Linked DNA regions of Homo sapiens: all the other regions are linked to region 1. Evidence: promoter capture Hi-C in 16 types of primary human blood cells and fetal thymus (Javierre and others, 2016). All regions are on one chromosome and are shown on one strand. The core of a region is centred on a gene start or on the middle of the fragment in contact, and the rest is flanking DNA. Distances in the headings are between cores, read along the strand shown. Region 1 holds the start of CCN1 (cellular communication network factor 1). Region 2 overlaps DDAH1 (dimethylarginine dimethylaminohydrolase 1). Region 3 overlaps DDAH1 (dimethylarginine dimethylaminohydrolase 1).

Region 1 (3,338 bases), core at 270-2,769:
AGCCGCTTCAGTGAGCTGCCTTTTCCAACTGCAATCAATTCATTGTTTCTCGTCAACTCCACCTCGGAGGCATCGAATCCCAGCTCCTTGCCAAGGAGGCCGTCCTGGTCCTCCATGGGGTCCTTGATACTATCCTCGTCACAGACCCACTCCTCGCAGCACTGCCCGGTAACTTTGACCAGCCGAGGGTTGGGACAGCCCAAGTTGGGGAGAGATAGTTCTTGGGGACACAGAGGAATGCAGCCCACGGCGCCATCAATACATGTGCACTGATGTTTACAGTTGGGCTGGAAACTTTCCCCGTTTTGGTAGATTCTGGAGTTATATTCACAGGGTCTGCCCTCTGACTGAGCTGCAAAGATCACCAAAAGAGAAAGGTAGAAGGGGATAAAGTTAAGATTCCAAACCACCGCCTGAAACTCATACATATTTTCTGCTGTTAAATTCAATTTATGGTAAAGTTCCCTACAATTCCCCGGAGACTCCAGACCAGAACAATAAGTTAGTCAGGAATCACTTTTCCGTATGCGCTTTCGTTGGGCCCAGACACACTGAATTGCATTCCAGACTGCTGAAATCATGTGCCTTTCTGCCAAGCTACCAACAACAAAGCATCACCATACATGGTCTCAGAATTACTAAACTTCTGGACTATGGGGACTAGTATTTTTTTTAAAGGGGCCAAACCACAAGCATCTTACCTCTGCAGATCCCCTTCAGAGCGGTGGAGCTGGCGCCGAAGTTGCATTCCAGCCCCTTGGTGTGGTCGCAGGGCTGCGTTTTGCTGCAGTCCTCGTTGAGCTGCTTGGCGCAGACCTTACAGCAGCCGCAGCCGTCCCGGACCAGCCCGACTCCCGGCGCGCACTTGGGCGCCTCCAGGGGGCAGTGGCAGGCAGCGGGGCAGGTGGAGAGCGCCTGGAAGGGGGAGAAGATACGCGTGAGACTCGGCGCGGTGCGCAGGAGGGGCGCCGCGGCTGCCGCAGTGAGGGACGGGGGTCTCCGACCCTATCGACGGGGAGCCTCTGATCTCGTCCAGCCCGGCCACCTCGGAAGGCTGCTCCCACCAAGAGGTCCCGACACGTCTTCGGGGGGAGGGGGAGAGTGCTTAAAGAAACGGCTACCCGCAAACGATCGCGAACTTTTTAACTTTTCCTGCCGTGGGCAATCTGGGACCAGGGGAAGGGGCTGGAGAGCGGACGGGGAATAGGTGGCAAAAGGAGAGTCCAACTCACCAGCCTGGTCAAGTGGAGAAGGGTGACGACTAAGGCGAGCGCCCTGGCGATGCGGGAGCTCATTGTGGCGCGCAGGAGTAGCCCGGGGCGAGCGCGGCGACGAAGACGCCAACAAGCTGGTGTGCAGCGGACAGGCCGTGCGCAGCGGGGTCGGGGTGGCGGCGCGGTGGGCCCGGTGGGCAGGGAGGCGAGGGCTGGGCGGCGGGCGGGCGTCTTTCGCTCGAGGTCCCGGCGGAGAAGGCGCGGAGGGCGCGGGCGCTGCTCGGGGGCGCTCTCGCTCGCGGTCTGCCCAGGCGCCCCGGAGCCCGCCTTTTATACGGGCCGGCGGAGGCGCCGCGTGTTGCAGTGACGTCGGCTCTGTCTGCGCGTTCCAGAATTCTCAAACATCTCAGGAATGCTGGTTGGCGCGGGCTGCTGCCAAGCGCCTCCCCTGGCTCCATTGCACCTTTGTGTGTGTGTGTGTGTGTGTGTGTGTGTGTGTGTGTGTGTGTGTGTGTGTGTGTCTGTGTGTGTGTCTGTCTCCCAGACCCGTCAAGAAAACAGTTCGGGGGGTGTGTGTGTGTGTGTGTGTGTGTGTGTGTGTGTCCCAGACCCGTCAAGAAAACAGTTCGTTTTTTCCACCTTAAATTACGACTTATGTTGGGAAGGGTTCTTTGGGGCGTGATGGTGGTGATGGTAGTTGGAGGGTCGTGAGGGGCGAGGGGGGCCAGTTCAGAACTTTGCCTGGACTGGGTGGGTGGGAGGACCTGAGAGGGAGGAACAAAAGTCGTTTTGTTTGGTGATGCGAGTTGACCGGGCAGCCACTGAAGCCCTCACCCGGGAAGGCAGTGAGCTGTTTGCTTTTTTACAGCGAAGGTGAGAGGCAAGTTATCTGTTGAAAGAGTAGAACGGGGAAGAGGAGTGTGTCTCTGAGTCAGGAATATTTGTGGACTTCAAAGAGGCGTGTTCGGAACAAGTCCCAAAGCTTTGGCATGATGTTTATTAGCAAAGTTCAGTGAATTGCAAATTAATACCCACAGTGGCATTTATGAATGAAAAGGCGGGGGGGGGGTGGGGCGGGGGGAAACTTGCCCATCGTCTGGCAAATTCCCAGGCAGAGGTCTCCCCCACTCCTCCAGCCCTTCCCTCTTTTGGGTATGTTGTACTTGTTTGTTTTTGGAGGTTCCCACTTTAGTTCCAGCCCACTGCCTGGGTTGGAAGTCCGAGAGGAAACGAACGCGGGGAGTTCTCCGGGAGGCTGACTTATACTTCCTCACGGATGCAGGAGACGGGGTAAGCCCTTCCCGCCTCCCTCCGCGGGCAGGAGGCTATGCTAACCAAGCAGCCAGCCAGAAGTGCAGGAGACCACCGTGGAGTGGCCTGAAATCATCACCTGCAAAGACCGCAAGGCCAAACCAGATTCCAGGACCATTGTGCCCTATGAATCTCTGGGAAAAGCAGACTCCTTCAAGCTGGACATTTTGTGGGGTTTTTAACTCCTTTCCTAGGGACCACTGGAAGCCTCCCATTTTAAATGAATTGCAATGCCCTTCTCTCCAAGTACAGAAAAGAGATTTAGGATGTAATATTTTGCAGTAAAAATGTCAGCAGATTTTAAGATCCCGTTCTACTTGCAACACACTCAGTAGAAGACCCCACCACAAGACAATTTACTTGAACATCACCAATACCATTAGTGTGATTGATAAACTTTCCCTGCAAGTTTCAAAAACTTTTTGCATAATTTTAATAAAAATTATCATGTAAGACTCATATGCTCTAGGATAACTACTTATCCTTTTTAATGTTTAAGGCTATTCAGACTTCATAATTTAGCAGTCTTGCTTGAAAAGGCCCTTAGTGCTAATGCTGACTTTCCTGATAAGCACAATGAGAATCTGTCAGGATGAAAACACACTCCAGTGAAGAGAATTCTTGCAGGAAGGAGTTCAGTTTCATTCATTCCAAAGTGCCCTTTCATAAATGGAAGCAGCATTTGCTAGAGGGAGTGGGATCTCTAAAGCTCTGTTAGAGGGTTAGGGGTGGGAGACTTTTCAAGACAATGGATTGTCAGGTGTTATGCAAATACAGTGAGGAAAGTGTGGGCCCAACACGTACACAGGTTAA
Region 2 (3,338 bases), core at 549-3,048, 210 kb after region 1:
AGCCCATAACACTTGCCCTCTTCATTTTAGCACTGTGCTAGCTGTCTTCCTGTTCCTTGAACAAGTTAAGCTTGTTCCCACCTTAGGGCCTTTGCACTGGCTCTTGTTGGAACATTCTTCCTATGGGCAACAGAGTTGGTCCTTTTGGTCACTCAGATATCAGCACAAATGTCACACTTTCAGAAAGGCTGTTCCTGACCTTCCAAACTACAGTAACTACCCTAGCCATTTTATATCACATCTCCTGAATTAAATAACTGCATAGCACTTACCACTAATATTTTTAATGTTTATTATTTATTGCCTATCTCTCCATATCCTCACCAGAATATACACAGGGCTCTTCTCTCTTCGCTGATGTATTCTTGGAACCTAGAATAGTGCCAGGTATATTGAAAATGCTGAATAAATGTTTGTTGAATGACTAAGCAAATGAACAGAATTACTGGAGATGAGTGGCGGTTAGTGATTATTGGGACAAATAGGCCAACGGTAGTTTTCTCACCTGCGGGTTTTTAGAAATAAAGATGAATCTTCCCACCCTTGAAATGTCGTAAGAGTTGTTTAAAAGAGGTCACAGAGGTTGTATGGCTCTTGCCGTGGCTATGCCCTGTCTAAACAAGGTGGATATTTTTGCCGTATACTTGTTTATAACATTTCCAGAAATTCTGTCTGACTTACAAAGTTGTTCAGCTGTTCATTCAGTAAACATATACAGAGAGTCAACTAGGGGCCAGAACTTGTTAATAGAATGCCCCGAGCCTGGGCAGCATAAGTAGACCCCATCTCTACAAAAAAAAAAAAAAAAAATTGGCCATTGGGCACACACCTGTAGTCCCAGCTACTCAGGAGGCTGAGGTGGGAGGATTGTTTGAGCCAGGGAGGTTGAGGCTGCAGTGAGCCATGATGGCACCACTGCACTCCAGCCTGGAGGACAGAGTGAGACCCTGTCTCAAAAAAAAAAAAAAAAAAAAAAAGAATCCCCTGGGAGCCATGGGAGCACACAGAAGGAATCTCTGACCCAGCCAGGACCTACATTTGGGCTGGGAGCAGGGATATGCTGGATGGCTTTTAGGGCAGCTTAATGCCTGCAATGTATAAATTGTATACTGAACATACAAAATATTTCCCATACATTAATCTGTTTGTGTCTGGCAGCATGCGATTCCTCTGAATTCACAGAAAATTATGAACACTTCGAGTACTATTTCTGGTGCTTATTTTGGATCATGTGCACAGCAAATTTTTATGCTTCTCAACATTCAGGAAAATTAGTTTAGAATTTTATAAACTTGTCAGTTCCCTGGTTTTTAGCCTACTAAATTTTGCAGGTCTTTTGGCAGCTGACACTTATTTTAATTTGGTATTTGGTGATAAATCATATTTTTATTTGCCCCCTGCAGACAGAACGTCAGTGGCTTTTAAGTACTCAATACATGTATTGTATCATTATCGTCAACAAGGAATTGAACCGCTTGAATTAGTACATTATATATCAAGAGAGCTGACAAGACCAGCAGAGCTCCTGCCTTGTTTTTCATTTAGAAAGCTAAATGTCACTTCCAGCCTTCTTCCGGGAAACTGTCTTGTAGTGACATCGTTATGGAGGGACCTTTGAACCTCTGGAACTTTCTCAGTGTATTCTCCAGATAATGAAAAGGGTCTTTCCTAGTTTTGTCCAGAGTGCTTTTTATTTCTCCTGGCTCCGTGGGTTTGCCTTCCACATTTCTGTCTAATCTTCCTAGATGCTATATGCCCTTTGGATCTGAGCACTGGTTCAGAGATGAAGAGTGTTGAAATATTAATTCCAGCTCTGATATACAGAGCTGCAACAATTGTGCTTTATAAACTAACATAATCCTGGGATGCTTTTAGTTTGACAATCTACTGTCTTCTATAGGCAGGATGGTCTTAGTGTTGTAAGTGGTTATAAATAGCATGGTGCATTCCTATAAACAGAAAAAAATCCTCCATTAATAGTTGTTTCTGTATCAGAATTTAATCAGTTTGATAAAGTGGCCTGTTATTACTGACTCTTTGGATACTACTTGTCAATTTTGTTGTATACCTAAATGAGTTACTTTTAGCTGCAGCTAACAGAAAACTCAAATTGGTTAATAAAATGAAAAATCTTATATATTAAGAACTCCAGGGCTCTAGGGTTGGATTTGGCAGCTCAAAATGTCATCAAAGGCTCAAATTGCTTCCCTCTCTCTGCCCTGCCATATTTGATGATGGATGTGTTCTCACCAGTTCCAGGTACAACATCTATACAGAACAATGTCCAAGGGAAGAAGAGGAATTATGTTTCTTTCTATGGCTCCAGGAACCTCTCAACAGACACCCCCTCAGTGGCCAATATTGGGTCACTTGCACCAGACCCTGGCATAAGAGACAGAACTGCCATGCCTGATTTAGACTGGGAGGTACCTTAAGGAATATGGTGATAATTAAATGACATAATCCATGCAAAATCACTTAGCACAATGCTTGGCACTTAGAAAGAGCTTAATAAATTGTATTTATTATTAATGATAGTGTTATGAGTGGTTAAGAGGTTCCTCAAACCTTGTTGATACTGATTGTGTGTTGAGGAGATAAAGATAACAGGGATCACCTGGGGAAGCCCATCTACTCAAATCCTCAGAGCGCATAGCAGGACCCTACTCATAGGAAGGGAATGGGATAGGTAACTAGAACAGGACTTCAGGGAAAAGAACCAAAGCAGCACCCAGGTATATGGTCAGGAGTAGGACAAAGCAGAAAGAATGACTTGACCCTGTGTCTCAGAGCATCGGCCTGGAGCTTGTTAGATCCTTCTTTTTCAGGTTAAGATCGATCATGGGAATAAATGAGTTATTTTTAGGTGCAGCTAACAGAAAACTCAACTCAGATTGGTTTGGGAAATGAAAAATCTCATATATCAAGAACTCCAGGGCTCTAGGGTTGGATTTAACAGCTCAGTCCAACTTAGGGAATGAACCCAAAGTTGATGAAATCTACTATACTGCATGTGAATATAAATAAGAAAACACACAAAGGTTGGCAAATAAGCAGAGCCTGACGTCTCTCTTATAGGAAAAGCATTGTAGATTCTCTGTGTCATATACTTATCTCACTACTGGCAAGTAATTAGCATCCTTGGAGAAACTGTGTGATGGGTTCTTCCAAAAAAATAAAATATAAGTATCATAAGTTAGTGTTGAGTTGACACACTCTTTGTTTCCCACTGCATTGGAATCTTCTGTTTGCCTCTGAGGATTCCCATCTTTCTGGAGTTTTTTTAATCCACTTTTAGGTTTGCCCTATCTTGTCTGCATTCATATATCCAGCCTCTT
Region 3 (3,338 bases), core at 364-2,863, 180 kb after region 1:
TTTTGCAACATAATTTTTCTGTCTATAATCACCCCCATTTCTACCAAAGATAATCAGAGTAAGACTAATTTGTTTGCAAAATAAGTTTCGTCTCATTAAACTTCACCTGATTATTTGTATATAAGTACAGCAAGAATAACCACACAGTTCTTTTTAAATTTGATTTGCTGGAAATTTTGACAAACAATCTCAGATTATACTTTTAAAAACCTCTCATCACTAGGAAGCCAAACCAAGGCCGACATCAGACTTTGTCTACTTTGTCTATGGTTATCTAGTGTCTTGAGGTTCCTAGGCCTGCCAGGAAGTGACAACTTTTTACTCACTCACTGTAATGCTGTGTGTAAGTCCACTTTGTGTTGCTATAAAGGAATATGTGAGACTGGGTAATTTATGAAAAAAAAAAAAAAAGAGGTTTATTTGGCTTACAGCTCTGCAGGCTATATAAGAAGCATGGCACCAGCATCTCCTCAACTTCCGGTGAGGGGCTCAGAAAGCTTTTACTTATGGTAGGAGGCTAGGGGAGTCAGTAGAGTCACATAGCGAGAGAGGCCTCCCACCAGGCCCTACCTTCAACACTGGGGATCAGATTTCAGCATGAGATTTAGAGGGGATAAACATCCAAACTGTATCACACTGGGAATCCTTGAAGCGAGGCATTCTATTAATTCTCAAATATTACATTTCAGTCAAAGCCTTGGCAATTAAACCAGTGTTTCCAATTGTATTGTGTAATACAGAGAGCAAATTCTTATTGAGCTTATGAAAATAATCATATTAAGGAGAAAGATGGAATGTTTCAATTTTTGTTTATAAAAGTGTACTCTACCAAACCATTGTGAGCTAGAGATAGCTTTAAAAAATCGTTTTCTTAAATCTGGAAAATAAAACATTAAGAGAACCAGCAATGTTTTAAATAAAAAAGCAATAAAAACCCTTACTTTTTCCTTATCAGTTTTTCAGTCTAATGTAATTAATTCTTGCTCTGTTTGATCTTAGTTGATAGTTTCACTAAACTACCAGTTTCTTTCTTAGAGTTCTACAAATTCTTACCCAATCCAGTGCTATCTCAAAGTTGTCACAAACCTGTACTTGTCAGAATTTTTTCCATTCTTTCCATGAACTTCTTTGAAGATTATGGTTCTTGCAAAAAGCTTTCAGAACAGCATCAGAATAAAGCAATTAACTGAGGACAATAAGACTTAAAATAGCCATCATTGAAAACCTGATGAGAGTCTATAATGATGCAGCTGACAAAGAAATTGTGTTATTTCTGTGGCATACAACATTTTAACATAATAACCAAAATTATGATTGATTTCTAGAAATTTAATGCAATTTTGAAAAACCTTTTTTTTTTTTTTTAAGACAGGGTCTCACACTATCACCCAGCCTGGAGTGCAGTGATGTGATCATGGCTCACTGCAGCCTCTGCCTCCTGGGCTCAGGCGATCCTCCCACCTCTCAGCCTCCCGAGTAGCTAGGACTACACCTGTGTGCCACCATGCCTGGTTATTCTTTGTATTTCTTATAGCAATAGGGTTTTACCATGTTGCCCAGGGTGGTCTTGAACTCCCGGACTCAAGCAATCTGCCCACTTCAGCCTCCCAAAGTGCAGGAATTGCAGGTGTGAGCCACCACACCTGGCCTGAATAAATATTTTAATATCGTATCTATACAAATGTAAGGAAAAGACGGTTAAACGTTATCTCTTATTGACAATATTTCCTATATAATTTAACATATCAAATAAACCTAATTGGTTTAATATCTCTCTTTTGGACTTCCAGGTGGCTGTGGTTTGGATGTTTGTCCCCCAAATCTCATGTTGAAATTTGATCCCCAATGCTGGAGGTGGGGCTTAATGGGAGGTGTTTGGGTCATGGGGATGGATCCCTCGTGAATGGCTTGGTGTCTTCTTTGCGATGAGTGAGTTTCCATTCTATTAGTTCCTGTGAGAGCTGGTTGTTTAAAAGAGCCTGTCACCTCCCCACTCCTCTCTTGCTCCCTCTGTGGCCATGTGATCTCTGTACTGTGACTCCCTTTTGCTTTCTGCCATAAGTGGAAGCTTCCTGAGGCTTTTGTCAGATGCCCAGTCTTCCAGCCAGGAAAACTGTGAGTCAAGTAAACCTCTTTTCTTCATAAATTATCCAGCCTTAGGTATTCCTTTATAGCAGCTCTAAAGGGACTAAGACAAGGAGACTTAGAATTTCATTTTGGGAAGTTTGTCAAAAAGATTCAAACACTTGATCAAAAATAGGATCACATTTTTGATCAAGTGTTTGAATATAATACTCATTTAGCCACAATGATAATTAAAATACTTCAAAAGAAGTTACATAGCTGTAGAAAATCTTAACTCTTATAATAAAGAGGAGACTCAGTTTTCCTAAGTAATTAATGACCTAAGAAAGAAAACATGAAGCACAGAAATTATTTTGACAAAATACAGAATCTTTCTTTTCTAGGCCACATACCTAAAAAGTCTCACAATTTTTTTAATAAGAAAAGATCAGTACATGTCAAGAAAACCTTGTTTTAAAATTTTAAAAATAAAGCTTAATTTTTAGAAAAACCTAAAAACAATTCTTTTTTAATTTTAGCCAACTTGATCACACTCAAAATTCCTTTCATAAGATTCATCTTCCATAAATCTTCTAAAACTTGCAAAGACCTCGTGCAGCTTGCTCAAACCTTCACTTCTTTTTCTTTTTTCTTTTTTTTTTTTTGAGATGGAGTCTCACTCTTGTTGCCTAGGCTGGAGTGCAATGGTGCGATCTCAGCTCACCGCAATCTCTGCCTCCCAGGTTCAAGCGATTCTCCTCCTTCAGCCTTCCAAGTAGCTGAGATTACAGGCATGCACCACCACGCCCAGCTGATTTTGTATTTTTAGTAGAGACAGGGTTTCTCCATGTTGGTCAGGCTGGTCTTGAACTCCCTCCCTCAGGTGATCCACCCACCTTGGCCTCCCAAAGTGCTGGGACTACAGGCATGAGCCACTGCGCCCAATCTCCTCGTTTTCATATTGAAACAACCAGTCATTCTACCTTAGGGCAAAAATTTACTTTTCTTTTTCCCTCATCTTTCTGACCACACAGAATTGTCATTCAAAAAAATTAGTCTGTTTTCAACTTTCTTTACCAAAAATATATTCTCAGACTTACAACTTTTTTGTATCTCTTTTTCCTACTTAATAGTTCCTTCCTGCCTTGTTTCCATTTTCTCCATAAATCTTTATTGTGAAAAGCCTTTAACCTTTGAATTAGCTGAAATAACTCTTTTCTACAAAAATATATTCTCATGACTTTTTATAATTTTTTTCACCCAAAACACATTTT

What was found. Contacts are between HindIII fragments. The CHiCAGO score rates a contact against its expected background, and 5 or more counts as called.
Region 2: a fragment that was not itself captured here is called in contact with the fragment with the promoter of CCN1 in region 1 in 1 of 17 cell types (endothelial precursors); the score reaches 6.7 in endothelial precursors.
Region 3: a contact is called between a fragment that was not itself captured here and the fragment with the promoter of CCN1 in region 1, in 1 of 17 cell types (endothelial precursors). The highest score is 5.7, in endothelial precursors.

Annotation. Positions count from the first base shown.
Region 1 is chr1:85,578,942-85,582,279 of GRCh38, reverse strand. It overlaps CCN1 (cellular communication network factor 1), which reads right to left and starts at 1,519. Exons shown (of 5, transcript NM_001554.5): 1 at 1,233-1,519; 2 at 702-915; 3 at 1-352. The coding sequence starts at 1,295. RefSeq lists enhancers at 1-382, 1,649-1,698, 1,429-1,951 and silencers at 799-848, 859-908, 919-978, 1,409-1,538. The HindIII fragment of the contact is 3,344 bases long and covers 1-2,198 here.
Region 2 is chr1:85,366,695-85,370,032 of GRCh38, reverse strand. All of the region lies in intron 1 of DDAH1 (dimethylarginine dimethylaminohydrolase 1), which reads left to right. Among named protein-coding and RNA genes, the nearest start is that of BCL10, 92 kb to the right of the region's middle. The HindIII fragment of the contact is 3,452 bases long and covers 73-3,338 here.
Region 3 is chr1:85,395,064-85,398,401 of GRCh38, reverse strand. The region is part of intron 1 of DDAH1 (dimethylarginine dimethylaminohydrolase 1); the gene reads left to right. Among named protein-coding and RNA genes, the nearest start is that of DDAH1, 68 kb to the left of the region's middle. The HindIII fragment of the contact is 914 bases long and covers 1,157-2,070 here.